3 separate regions of the Homo sapiens genome follow, and regions 1 and 2 are each linked to region 3. Evidence: promoter capture Hi-C in human tissues and cell types (Jung and others, 2019). All regions are on one chromosome and are shown on one strand. The core of a region is centred on a gene start or on the middle of the fragment in contact, and the rest is flanking DNA. Distances in the headings are between cores, read along the strand shown.

Region 1 (3,801 bases), core at 334-2,833, 110 kb after region 3:
ATCTATGCACCAAACAGTATTGCCTCAAAACATATAAAGCAACAATTTCAGCATTGCAAGGAGCAACTGACAAATCCAGTGGGAGGCTTTAACACACCTCTCTCAATAATTGATAGATAATCAGACAAAATCAGAAAAGAACATATTATAGATGATTTGAGCTGCACAATAAGCTAACTTATCTTTCAATGATGATATATAGAAAACTATATCCAATATTTAAAGATGTTTTTTGAAGCACTTATGGGACATTTAAGAAAAAAAGTTGCAGAGATAAAAATGTAAAAAAGGAGCCCACGGAAGTAGTTCAATGCATATTTCAAACTCTAAGGATCTAAACCTATTTTGTCTTAAAAGACAGAGACCCTGTCTTTCTTCTTCATTGATATATCTCCAGAGTCTAGCACAGTGCCTGTCACAAAGGAGGCTGTAAATAGCCACTGAAGAACGAATGGTGAATGAATGATTCTCTACTGAAGATGGTGCAGGTTGCATGAGCAACCAGCAAGGCAGACGCTGGAGGTAACTAAAGCCCTTTCCAACACAGAGGGGACGAGAGGACAAGGTGACTGGCACCAGTCTCTAGGGAGAATTTATACCAAAAAAAGAAAGACGGAGTCATGACAGCCAAATCTTCAAATCTTCAAACCCAGTGAGAGAGGCATGTGGAAGAGTCTTTGAAAGCCAAGTCTTTGTGGTTCCTAATGGCAGAGCAGAGACCAGCAGACAGAACTAACAACTAACTGTCCAACACTGGCTGGAAACTGGCCTGACTGATCATCTAAGGCCCCTTATGACTCTGTGTGGGACAGAAGTCTGTCTAGCAGGTACTGGGACTCTCAGGTCGTGGACTGAGTAATCTTTCCCATTCTATCCTGTCTCAGAGATTTTTTCATTCAAAATTCCCTGGATACCCCATCCTGTAAGACCTGTCCAAGGTCCCAGATTCAGGAGGTGGTGGAAGAATAATAAGAGCTCCATTCTAGACACTCAACTCAGTCCTTTCTGCTCCATATCAGCCTCTCCTTTAACCAAAATGAGCACACTTTAATCTGTAAAGTGACATGCACTTTCTAAGTCTACCCTCATCCCAGGAAACCTCATTCTTCTAGCACATAGCAAGGGATTACAAATGCATACAGAAAGTGTTAAAATGAAAATGAAAATTCCTCAGCCTTCCAGAAGAAGGAAAGCAAGCTCACCTTGACCTCCGCAGATGGCTGAGTTGGGGGCCTGGTTCTGGGGGCTTCTCCTGCGGTCGGCCAATCATGCTGCTTTCATGCTGCTGGACAGGTGGGAAGAGGAGGCCTGGTCCTGTGGGGAAAAGAAAAAGGAAAGGTCATTTCCTCATCATTTGCTCCTAGCTCTTCATCACCATCCTGCAGAAGACACTACCAGAAATCCCAGGGAAATTCCCGAGGCTGTCCTCACCTACTCTTAGGTAATGAGGAAGCAGACAGGCATGCATTCAACAAACATTTCCAAAGGCCTGCAATGTGCCAGGCAGGGCACTGAGGAATGAGGCCATGGAGATGAACTGGATGCAGTCTCTACACTTAGGAAACAGAGAGAGAGAGAGAGACAGACAGACAGACAGACAGACACAGAGAGATATAGAGAGACAGAGAGAGATCTGAGTTTCATTATAATATCATTTGCTAAGTGCTGTGATTCCCCAAATCCATTCAACAGCTGACTTTCCTCATGGGGGAGCTACAGCAGCTTACAGGTGCCTTGGCATACAGCTTCTCAAGTTATTTGTCATGAAGAACCAGTTGTTTTGTTTTGTTTTGTTTTGTTTTGTTTTTTTCTGAGACAGAGTCTCACTCTGTTGCCCAGGCTGGAGTGCAATGGTGTGATCTTGGCTCACTGCAACTTCTGCCTCCCAGGTTCAAGCAATTCTCCTGCCTCAGCCTCCCAAGTAGCTGGGATTATAGGTGCCCACCACCACACCTGGCTAATTTTTGTATTTTTAGTAGAGACGGGGTTTCACCATGTTGGCCAGGCTGGTCTTGCACTCCTGACCTCATGATCTGCCCGCCTCGGCCTCCCAAAGTGCTGGGACTACAGGCGTGGGCCACCGTGCCCAGCCGAAGGACCAGTTTTTAAAAAATTTTCCACACCATTAGAGATGACTACTTTAATAAAATATAGTAAAAATGAACTGCTAGAAAAAGGAAATGAAAAGATACTGATACAAAGTGCAAGCTCACTTTTAAGTTCTTTGATTCAACAGATTATTCTGTCAAATCGGCATGAAAGTTACTAAGCACCGACTCAATTTCTGAACTTATCTCATGGACCGCTAAAGAGTTTGCAGAGAGCACCACTCCTGAGCCACAGCTGAGTAGCAGCATTGCTATAGTAGAGACTTCCACATTGCACACCTTTCCTAAGATGTCTAGCTGATATGTTCAGAGAGGGAGGCTAGAAAGAAAAATGATTTCAAATTCACTCTCTGGACTATAAAAAGTTAGTTCAGAGAGTCTCTCTTTGGGAAGGAGAACCACAGCAGGAGCTTTGGGAAAGTGTGGCTCCATGCTGTTTGGAGATAGGTGGTGGCACCCACCTGCTGTGTTCAGGTAACAAAGTGTGAGGCTCATGGAAAGCTGTTCCTGGAGCCCTGTCTGCCTCCACCCTGAACTTCCCAACCCTAACTATGGCAACCCCGCCTGAAGCTCCCTCCCTGAATGAGAAGAACAAAGAGTCATCTATTAAAATGCACTGGGACATTTCAGAAAATAAATCATTTTCAAGATGCCAAAAGGGCTGCTGGTATGCATTCCTACTATTTAATGCTATAAAATGATTTTTTTTTAAATGAGAAATCCTTTGTCTGTGACAGCTAGCTCCAAAAAAAACCTTTAACTGCCTATTTCCTTAATACTTGAGGGAGGCATTACAAGTCATTTTCACCCATTTGAATGTTTAAGAGAAAGTGCTCATTCTTCTAAATTCGCTGCTTTTAAGTAGTTCTTATTTTAAGCTTTAGAAGAAGATAACTCTGCAGAAGAAAACTTCCTTTTTCAAAGCCTTGTTTGTTTTGTTTTTTTAAATGCAAACACACATACACTCTCAACTCCCTGCTTCAAATGTTAAATCATCTGCAATTTTGGAGTTTGTTGCTCATGAAATTCTAGCGATAAGCACATCACAAACATTCCTATAGCAACAGAGTGTTTTTGAAGCAACATCTGTAATGTTACAAAGATTGTGTATCATTATCTCTGAATGTTGGCAAAGGGAAGGTTATGGGGAATAACTGTTTATGTACAAATAAGTCAGTACAGTAACTGGCAACCTGAATAGCAGACCTTACCAAGGAGCTAAGCATGGCACGGGTGGGAAGCAGGAATGCACTTCATTCCGTTTCTGTGAATAAATTCACCATCCTAACCCTCTATGTATGAAAACAACTTTCTAGGGTCCTCTCTGCAGAGGCGTGAGCTCTTGGAACTGCTTGTCTTATGGGCAAGAGTTTGTCTTAGACAACATATGGCCAACTTTTATTAGCCATCTATTGTAAGTCAGGCATGGAGCTAGACTCAGGGCTTCTAAAGACAGGTTCTTCTTCAAAGAGGCTCAAGAGAACCATATAAACAGATAATTACAATTCCCTAAGAAGAGATTATTGGCTGGAGTTAAGGGAAAGGAAATGAAATTAACTAGTTCAATCCATTCATCTAACCATCCATTCACCCATCCAATGTTGGCTGGTGCCTAGTATGTACTAGGCAAATGCAAGGCACTTGGCATACAACAGCTGAGTGAGACCAGTGTGTTCCCTACCTTCATGGAGCT
Region 2 (4,265 bases), core at 1,600-4,099, 87 kb after region 3:
GAAGGATGAGGTCACTCCAGCCAGGGCCCAGGAGGTGCAGTAGGCAGACCCTTGCTGTGGGGGACTCCGGGAAGGTCTCTGCAGGGCACCTGGCTGGAGGGGGTCTGGGCCCAGGGCCCACAGGAAGGATCCTCCACTCCTGCCCCCAAGAACTTGGGGCGTGGGGCCTTCTGAATCAGCACCTGGGACTTCAGCCAAACAAAGGATCCCTGGCCCTGCAGCTGTCCTGGGCAGGGCAGGGCAGGGCTGGGAGAATGGGAGGAGATTTCCCTCCGGCTGCTCTGATGAGGCCCCAGCGAAAGTGGGAATAAAGATAGAGGGGAAGTGGGCTGGCAGGGAGATCTGACCCCCTTGGCCCCACCTACAGCCTCAGAGTGAATTATTAATAGAAGAAAGCACAAGTCAAGCACCTGCAGGCTCTGTTGCTATCACTCAAGCTCCACACCTAGCGTCATGGGGCCAAGCGGCCAGAACAGCCTCCGGCAGGTGGGCAGCACAGACCAACTTCCTCTGCAAGGGACGACAGGGAGGGTGGTGGCTGGCGCTGTCACCACATCCTGGCCATGCACATTGAGATGGCACCAGACCCACAGACTCTCCAGGCCTGTGTGTGTGTGAGCTATACTCCCGAGCAGATCAGCTGTGTGACTTTGGTGTGTGGCCTTCCAAGACATCAAGCTGTATAAAAAACCAAAGGGTCACCCAGGGCCCCAGAGAAGAAGCGATCATCTTAAGGGACAACCACTCCCCTTTTTTTCTGGAAAACAGCTCACACAGTAACAAAGTCAGTGATGTACAAAGTCAGTATGTAAAATAACCGTGCAATAGTGTTCTTGTGTTTGGGTTGTCGTGGGTCCCCTCTGGGTCTCCTGCCTGCGTTTCAGACAAAAAGCCTGTGTAGAAGCCCAGGGTATCCCAGGTTATGACGTCGGTGCCACGGGGAGCATTCTGTAAATACCGGCGGCGACACCGAGCTACATACTGGGCAATGCCACGGTCCCAAGCTTTTCGCTTTTAAGATAAGGGGGCTCGGACAAGCCACAGTCCCTTTTGCTCAGACTTCTAAGGTCTTTTGGGGAATTCTGGGAGTCAACAAACAAACCCGAGGGGACCTCTGGCAACTAGGGCTGGAGGCCTTCCAGCAGGACTTCCTGAGTCGCTCCCTCCTCCAGGCCTCCGAGGATCCGGTTCTGGCCTCCTTCTAGAAGCCCTGGGGGATGGTGAGCCTCACTCAGGTACCCATCTCCCAGCAAGTTCGTGCTCTGAGGGAGGGCAGGGGGAGCCCTGGCTCGCTTGCTCACTTGCTCGTCTCCGGGACTCAGCTCATGCCTCCCCTGACAGTGTGAGTGAGTGCTCAGGAGGCACTGACCCAGGGCAGCCAGGAAGAAGCCTCTATGCCCTGCAGCCCTCGGGGTTCAGCCCAGCCACTTGGCCGTGCCTGACGACATCTCCCCTGTTCTTCATGGTGCTATGGGAGGCCAGCCTTCCCAGGCAGATGAGTGAGGCTCCTCATTCAAGGGTCCAGGGGGAGCCTCACCCTCATGGCACCCTGTGTAGGCTCTCGGGGCCCTTAGGAGGCTGCTGAGGGCGGGGAAAGGAAGGAGTGAGGGAGGAGGCCTGGAAGCCAATTAGGAAGATGTCCTTGAGAGGCAAGTCCATGGGAGCTGCAGAGAAAGTCTGTCAGGAGGACCTGGTTCCAAACTTGTTCCAAATCACAGCATGCCACGATGAAGAAAAACAGTATGTTTTAATTCATAAATGCTTCTAAGAATTCAGTGTTATGGAATAAAGTTGGAAGTGAAATTCCCCCTCACCTGAGATTCCCACTGTCTGGTGCTTTGTATGTGGACGGTGGGAGGGATGATGAAGGTTGGCTTCTGGTTACTGAGAGGCCTCAGGGGATAAAGAGGGGTCCTGCCCTTTCTGGGTTTGCTCCTCCTCTGGCAATCTTCATGCTCCCCTGGGAAGCCCCCAAACCTGTCTGGACTTGCTCAAGGCAGATATCCTGTTGGTCACTGGCCCCCATTATCTCACAGTCCCAATTTCTTGCCAAAACAACTTCCCTTTGCTGCTAGGGGACCCCTGCAGCTGAACCAAGAAGACAGAAATGCGGCCCCGGAGCCTGGGCTGCAGGGAGAGTGTGAGGACCAAATCCTAGCTAAAGGTTTTACAGGCCCAGACACGCATACTTCTGTTTGTTGGAAACATTACCCCACCAAGCTCAGTCACCTCAGGTATTTCATTTTTCAAACAATACTAGATATCCAGTTCCATAGAAACAGAATTGTGTTTAATAGCTCTGTTTTTTAAAATCTCTCCCTCTCTCTCCACTGTGCCACGAGCAGTGTTTGGCCAAAGCAGATTCACTCAATGTTTATGGAACACAGCAAACAAGTTTGTCAAATATCAACCCTGTGTGCATGGTAAACTATTAGAAAGTGAAGGAGCCAATCCCCTTCTCCAGACCAGCTGAGGTGGTCCAGAATTACATCCAGGATGCCTGCTTAAGAGTGCCCAGACTCTGCCAGGATCCTCCAGCCCTGTGTGGAGGCGGGTCACAGAGGGGTGGCTGTAGGAGGGACACCCAGCGTGGCATCGATGAGCTGGATTAAGATGCTGCTACGCAAACAGGAAGGAAGAACAGCAACGATGGCTAACGTGCATTGGGCGCTAACCCCAGGCTAGGCACAGTGCCAAGTCCCTCAGAAGCCCCTCCCAATAACCCCACATGGTGGTAAGTGCATCCATCACCTTTAACTACCTTACCAACCTCCCAATGACACCTTGCAATGAACATTCTCAGATGCATCCCCTTAGGAACATCTGTGAGAATTTCTTTAGGATACATACCCAGGAGTAGAGGAAGGTGTGATGCTTTTTATGTGTCAGTTTGGCCAGGCTGAACTACTGCCCTCAGAATTCCCTTTCTAGGGAGTTGGTTAAAGCAGAGACTCATAGAAAATGACATGTAGACAAGTGTGTATGCTGCAGTATTGCTAGAAAAGCCAAAGACTGAAAACAACCCAAATGCCTAACCATAAGGGATTGATTGAAGGAAATCATGGAATAACCGCAGGATGGGATACTATGCAGTTGTTAAAACTAACAAGGAGACTGGGCACAGTGGCTCATGCCTGTAATCCCAGCACTTTGGGAGGATGAGGCAGGAGGATTGTTTCAGCCAAGGAGTTAGAGACCAGTCTGGGCAACATGGGGAAACCCTGTCTCTACAAAAAATACAAAAATCAGCCAGGTGTGGTGGTGCACACTTGTAGTCCCAGCTACTTGGGAAGCTGAGGTGGGAGCATCAATTGAGCCCAGAAGGTTAAGGCTGCAGTGAGCCATGATGGCGCCATTGCATTCCAGCCTGGGTGACAGAGTGAGACCCTGTCCCAAACAAACAAACAAACAAACCGAACCAAAACAAAACAAAAAATCCAAAAGAACAACAATGAAACTCTCTATGAAATGAAATGGAAAGACGTCCAAGGTTAAGTGAAAAAGAAAGATGCAGAACAGTATGTTCAGTATGCTCTCTTTTGTGTAAAAAATGGTTAAAATAGAATATATACATATGTAGGTATATAGATAGTTGATTTTTGTTAGTTGTGGTAGTTACATCCTATAAAGTCTCTATGATCACTGAATTAGTGAATACTGAGCCACTGCTCCTAAGAGAAATACAGGGTTAGGTTCCTGCAAGCCCCTGGTTGCAACATTTTTGTCAACTGATCAGTATATAACCTTGTTTTATATGTGTCTGCTTAAAGGATATCTTATTTAACATCTATTTTTTTCATTCATTAACATTGACCTCACAGCCAACAGTACTACAACTAATGCCTGAAAGGAGCTTATCTAATTCACCCATTTTCTCTGTAAGGCACATACATCACAGCCTTCTCGTGCTGAGAACAGTAGGCAACACTTTAGCATTACACTTGGAGGCCATTTCAAACAGTGAAATCAACAACAAAAACAACAAAAATATGAAAAATGCCATACTAAATACACCAAAAAAGCACACTTGTGTCCAGCAGGAGAGCTGAAATAAGAAGGTGGAGTTGCCTTGTTTAACCTCAGCTTGGGAACATGCATCGGGCGACTCAAAATTTTCACTGCTCTGTGCCTGTCCTCAAATGACCAAGAAAGCACTGAGCATCGGTTTTGTGGTTACAAATAAGTTTAGAGAGTAGGGAATTTGCAAATATGGAATCTGTGAATAATAAGGGTCAACTATGTATTTATAATTGATATATATTCAT
Region 3 (3,873 bases), core at 462-2,961:
TGCCTAGGGGCTTAATCAGCCCTTTGGATCTTGAATCATGATCGTATTGATTTTTAGATGAATCTGGGGAAGATTGATGGACTTAAATGAGTCTTATTATTTATGACCTGATATATTTGTTTACTTTTCTTACATTTTAAAAAAACATCAATTATTTTAAAAAGTCATCTTCTCTCTTTAAAAAACCTGCCTTCTAGGCAGGAGCACTTAAGACCTTGGGCAAATCGATTCATTCCCTTTTGCCCAGCTTTCTCATCATTTAATTTGGAATAACAAAAGTCTGCCCCTCCCACCCAGGGTTGCTGCTGATTCAGAGGAGACCTAAGAGAGGCGGAGCGCTGAGAAGTCCGAAACTGGCTCTGTGCCCTGTGGGGTGGTCGATGGGGTTCATCTCTAAGGAGGTTCTGTTGAATTGAAGGTGCTGACCTCACCCTCCTGTCCCGGGACAGGCACTGTGGGGACGTGCACTGACTGGTACCAGCGACAGGATGAGACCTGAAGTGGCATTCCCAGTGATTCAGCTTAGAAAGCTAAGTTCTCCACGCACTGAGGAATGGAGAACTGACACTTTCTTCAGATTAAATTGGTATTTGAGGCAAATACCAGGGCATTTGAGGTATTTGAGGTATTTGAGGATTGCCAGGGCACTGAACTGGATAACCTTAAATAATCAAGGGGTTTTTAACTGAATTGAAATTTAAAATTCAATCCCCTGGTGCATTTACAAGATGTGTTATCTTCTTAGCTGCTAGTGACATTGTGGGCTTAGAGAAACTCTAGTCTGAATGATTTAATGAAACCTTCCAGGACTTGAAGAGCTGAAAGGGGCTTTTGCAGTCATTCGCCCAGTCTCCCAATACATGCAGGAGCCTCTTCCAGCATTCTTGACAGGGAGGATCTGACCAGTCTCAGAAGAACCCCAACAAGAGGGAGCTCATAGCCCATGCTAAGATACCTTGTCTCATTTAGAACATCTCTTTTGCTCCTAGTGTTTAGAGTGACAGGGGCTCTGGCAGATGCGAAAACCCGGTCATTGGGCTGCAGAGTCTTGGTCAAAAATACACAAAGAGAGGACCTGGACTGTCTGCCAGTCGCCCTTCAGCTCTCAAGAAGAGGACACAGGGAGCATCAGCCGACAGCTAAGAGATGGAGGGAGGGAAGGAGAGACAGAGAAGATGGAAAGGGACAAAAGGAAGAGAAGAGACAGAAGGGTTTGGTGAGTGAGACAGAAAAGGTAAAGAGAGACGGAGTGGAAAGAAGAGCAGAGAAAGAGCCGAGGAGTGGGGAACTGGGAGCTCTCCCTGAGGACACTTGTGGAGGAAGGCGCCAGGTGGACTGGCCACTGGTCCTTCCCTTCAGGGTGCCTTACCCCATTCTTGTCGAAGGCTCGGAACATGCCCTCTACATACTGGGAGGCCTCCTCATCGTCTGTGACCTTGAAGAAGCGCTTAAACTCATGCATAAAGAGTGTGCCGCTGGGGCACTCCATCACAAACTTCTTGTACCACTCCTGGAGCTCCGCCACATCTATCTCGCCAGCTGCCTCCGCCTCCTCCCAGCTAAACTCCTGCCCCATGCTAGCCCTGAGGAGCATCAGGGAGCAAGGGTCTGTATCTCCTCCCTGGCTTCTGCTGATGGATCTCTCCAACTAGGGCCCTCTTCCTCCCTTTCCAGGAGGCCTGATCAGCCTCTCCATCATCTCCTGGGTGACTGAACATGATCAGTCGGTGCAGGGGGCAGGTGGCAAGGGAGGTGGGTCCAGGCCAGCTAAGCTGCCCTAAGACTATTAGAAGATTCCCCAGGTGGCCGGGTGCGGTGGCTCATGCCTGTAATCCCAGCACTTTGGGAGGCCGAGGTGGGTGGATCACAAGGTCAGGAGTTCGAGACCAGCCTGGCCAACATGGTGAAATCCTGTCTCTACTAAAAATACAAAAAATTAGCTGGGCATGGTGGTGGGTACCTGTAATCCCAGCTATTCAGGAGGCTGAGGCAGGAGAATCACTTGAACCTGGGAGATAGAGGTTGCAGTGAGCTGCGATCACACCACTGCACTCCAGCCTGGGGGACAGAGTGAGACTCTGTCTCAAAAAAAAAAAAAAAAAAAAAAAAAGAGATTCCCCAGGAAGTTCTGACCTCCAGCCTAAACTCCTCCAGCCTCACTCCTTCCCTTAGCCTTGTCAACAAAGCAACCAAGCTGGCCCTGGTAGACTCTGAAGAGGTAGAAGGGGAAGAAACTGAGAGGTAAGCAGAGAGATGCAGAGTGAAGAAAGAGTCGGGGTGCTAGGCTGGGATCCTCCCATCTCACTCACTCCCTATCTCTTTAGCTGGGCCTCACATTGCTTCAGGGAGGCCCATCTTGGAGACAGGAGACTCAAATCCAGAGAGGAAGTGAGATCAAGTCCTAGGCCATAAAACAGAATCTGCTGGTGATCTGGGACTCGCCCCTCAGACGGTCTAGTGAAAAGAGGCAGAATCTATGATGGGAAGGGCTCTAGGTGAGCAACTCTCTTCCCAGGCTAACTCGGTCCCTGAAGCTCCTTTCCAGATTACACCTTTCATCTTGGGAGCTTTTCACTTTCTGATTTAAACTACAAATGCCTCCCTCCAACCCTTCACACAAGACCTAGGGGTAGTGCCTTTTTCACATTTCCTCCAAAATACTAACATGTGAGAAGGATCTGGGAGCATGGCCTAAAATATCTTTGAAGGCTCTTACTTTTACATTATAGGTCATGTAAAATTTGCTTTTGAACAATTACATATTCATGCTTATTTTAATGTAACATAAAAATGACACCTCCAAGAAATCAAAAGACCAGGGACACACATTTTTCTTTTTCTTTGCTTTTTTTTTTTAAATTTCTATTTTTTGAGACAGGGTCTCGCTCTGTCGCCCAGGCTGGAGTGCAGTGGTGTGATCTCGGCTCACTGCAACTTCCGCCTCCGGGTTCAAGTGATTCTCATGCCTCAGCCTCCCGAGCAGCTGGGATTACAGGTGCACACCACAACACCCAGCTATTTTTTCTTCTTTTTTTTTTTTTTATTATACTTTAAGTTCTAGGGTACATGTGCACAACATACAGGTTTGTTACATAGGTATACATGTGCCATGTTGGTTTGATGCACCCAGCAGCCAGCTAATTTTTGTATTTTTAGTAGAGATGGGGTTTCATCATGTTGGCCAGGCTGGTTTCAAACTCCTGACCTCAAGTGATCCACCCGCCTTGGTCTCCCAAAGTGCTGGGATTATAGGCATGAGCCACCACGCCCAGTGACACTCATTTTTCTAGAAGACTTCAGAGGCAGCAGTTCCAGTGAATCTATCCTTAACCTACCCATCCCTCACTGGGTGTTCAGCCTGAATTGTTTTGCACATCTCCAGGCCTGACCTCCTCTCTCACTGTTCTCTGCCTCCAGACGTCACTGAGCTCTGAAAGCTCTTTTAACTTTCTTGCTATTCCTGAAGGAGAAATGTGATTTCTTCTGTCATCCTTTCAAGTGGTGGTGGGTTTTTCTCCCCCACACACACCTCAAGGTCTAGATAACAGGGCTAGTGTCCTCCTCGCTTCTAACTCTTGCCTCCAAATGGCCTTTTACTTTTTTCTCCCCAAAAAAGGCCAGTCCCTTTGAAGCCACATCTGACTCCTTGCCACTATTTACTTCTCCTCATTACTGTCATTCACTGGTGACTTCCCTGCTTGTCTCAAAGCATCATGTCAGTCATTTCAGTGACTGTGACCTCCAAGTGGATAAACAGCCCATCCCATACACTGGCCTCAAAGGTACTTGATCTCTCTCTCTTTTTTTTTTTTTTTTTTGAAACAGAGTTTTTGCTCTTTTCACCCAGGCTGGAATGCAGTGGTGCGATCTCGG

What was found. The method cuts DNA at HindIII sites, captures the fragments that hold promoters and counts their contacts. A contact is called where the count stands out against the background at its distance.
Region 1: a contact is called between a fragment that was not itself captured here and the fragment with the promoter of GUCA1B in region 3, in 3 of the 25 tissues and cell types used here (adrenal gland, bladder and liver).
Region 2: a fragment that was not itself captured here is called in contact with the fragment with the promoter of GUCA1B in region 3 in 2 of the 25 tissues and cell types used here (liver and spleen).

The regions. Positions count from the first base shown.
Region 1 is chr6:42,299,436-42,303,236 of GRCh38, forward strand. TRERF1 (transcriptional regulating factor 1) reads right to left here. Exons shown (of 18, transcript NM_001395490.1): 4 at 1,203-1,314. Among named protein-coding and RNA genes, the nearest start is that of MRPS10, 83 kb to the left of the region's middle. The HindIII fragment of the contact is 6,848 bases long and covers 1-3,801 here.
Region 2 is chr6:42,279,154-42,283,418 of GRCh38, forward strand. All of the region lies in intron 4 of TRERF1 (transcriptional regulating factor 1), which reads right to left. Among named protein-coding and RNA genes, the nearest start is that of MRPS10, 63 kb to the left of the region's middle. RefSeq lists an enhancer at 274-786. The HindIII fragment of the contact is 8,920 bases long and covers 1-4,265 here.
Region 3 is chr6:42,193,245-42,197,117 of GRCh38, forward strand. It overlaps GUCA1B (guanylate cyclase activator 1B), which reads right to left and starts at 1,712. Exons shown (of 4, transcript NM_002098.6): 1 at 1,370-1,712. The coding sequence starts at 1,576. The HindIII fragment of the contact is 9,949 bases long and covers 1-3,873 here.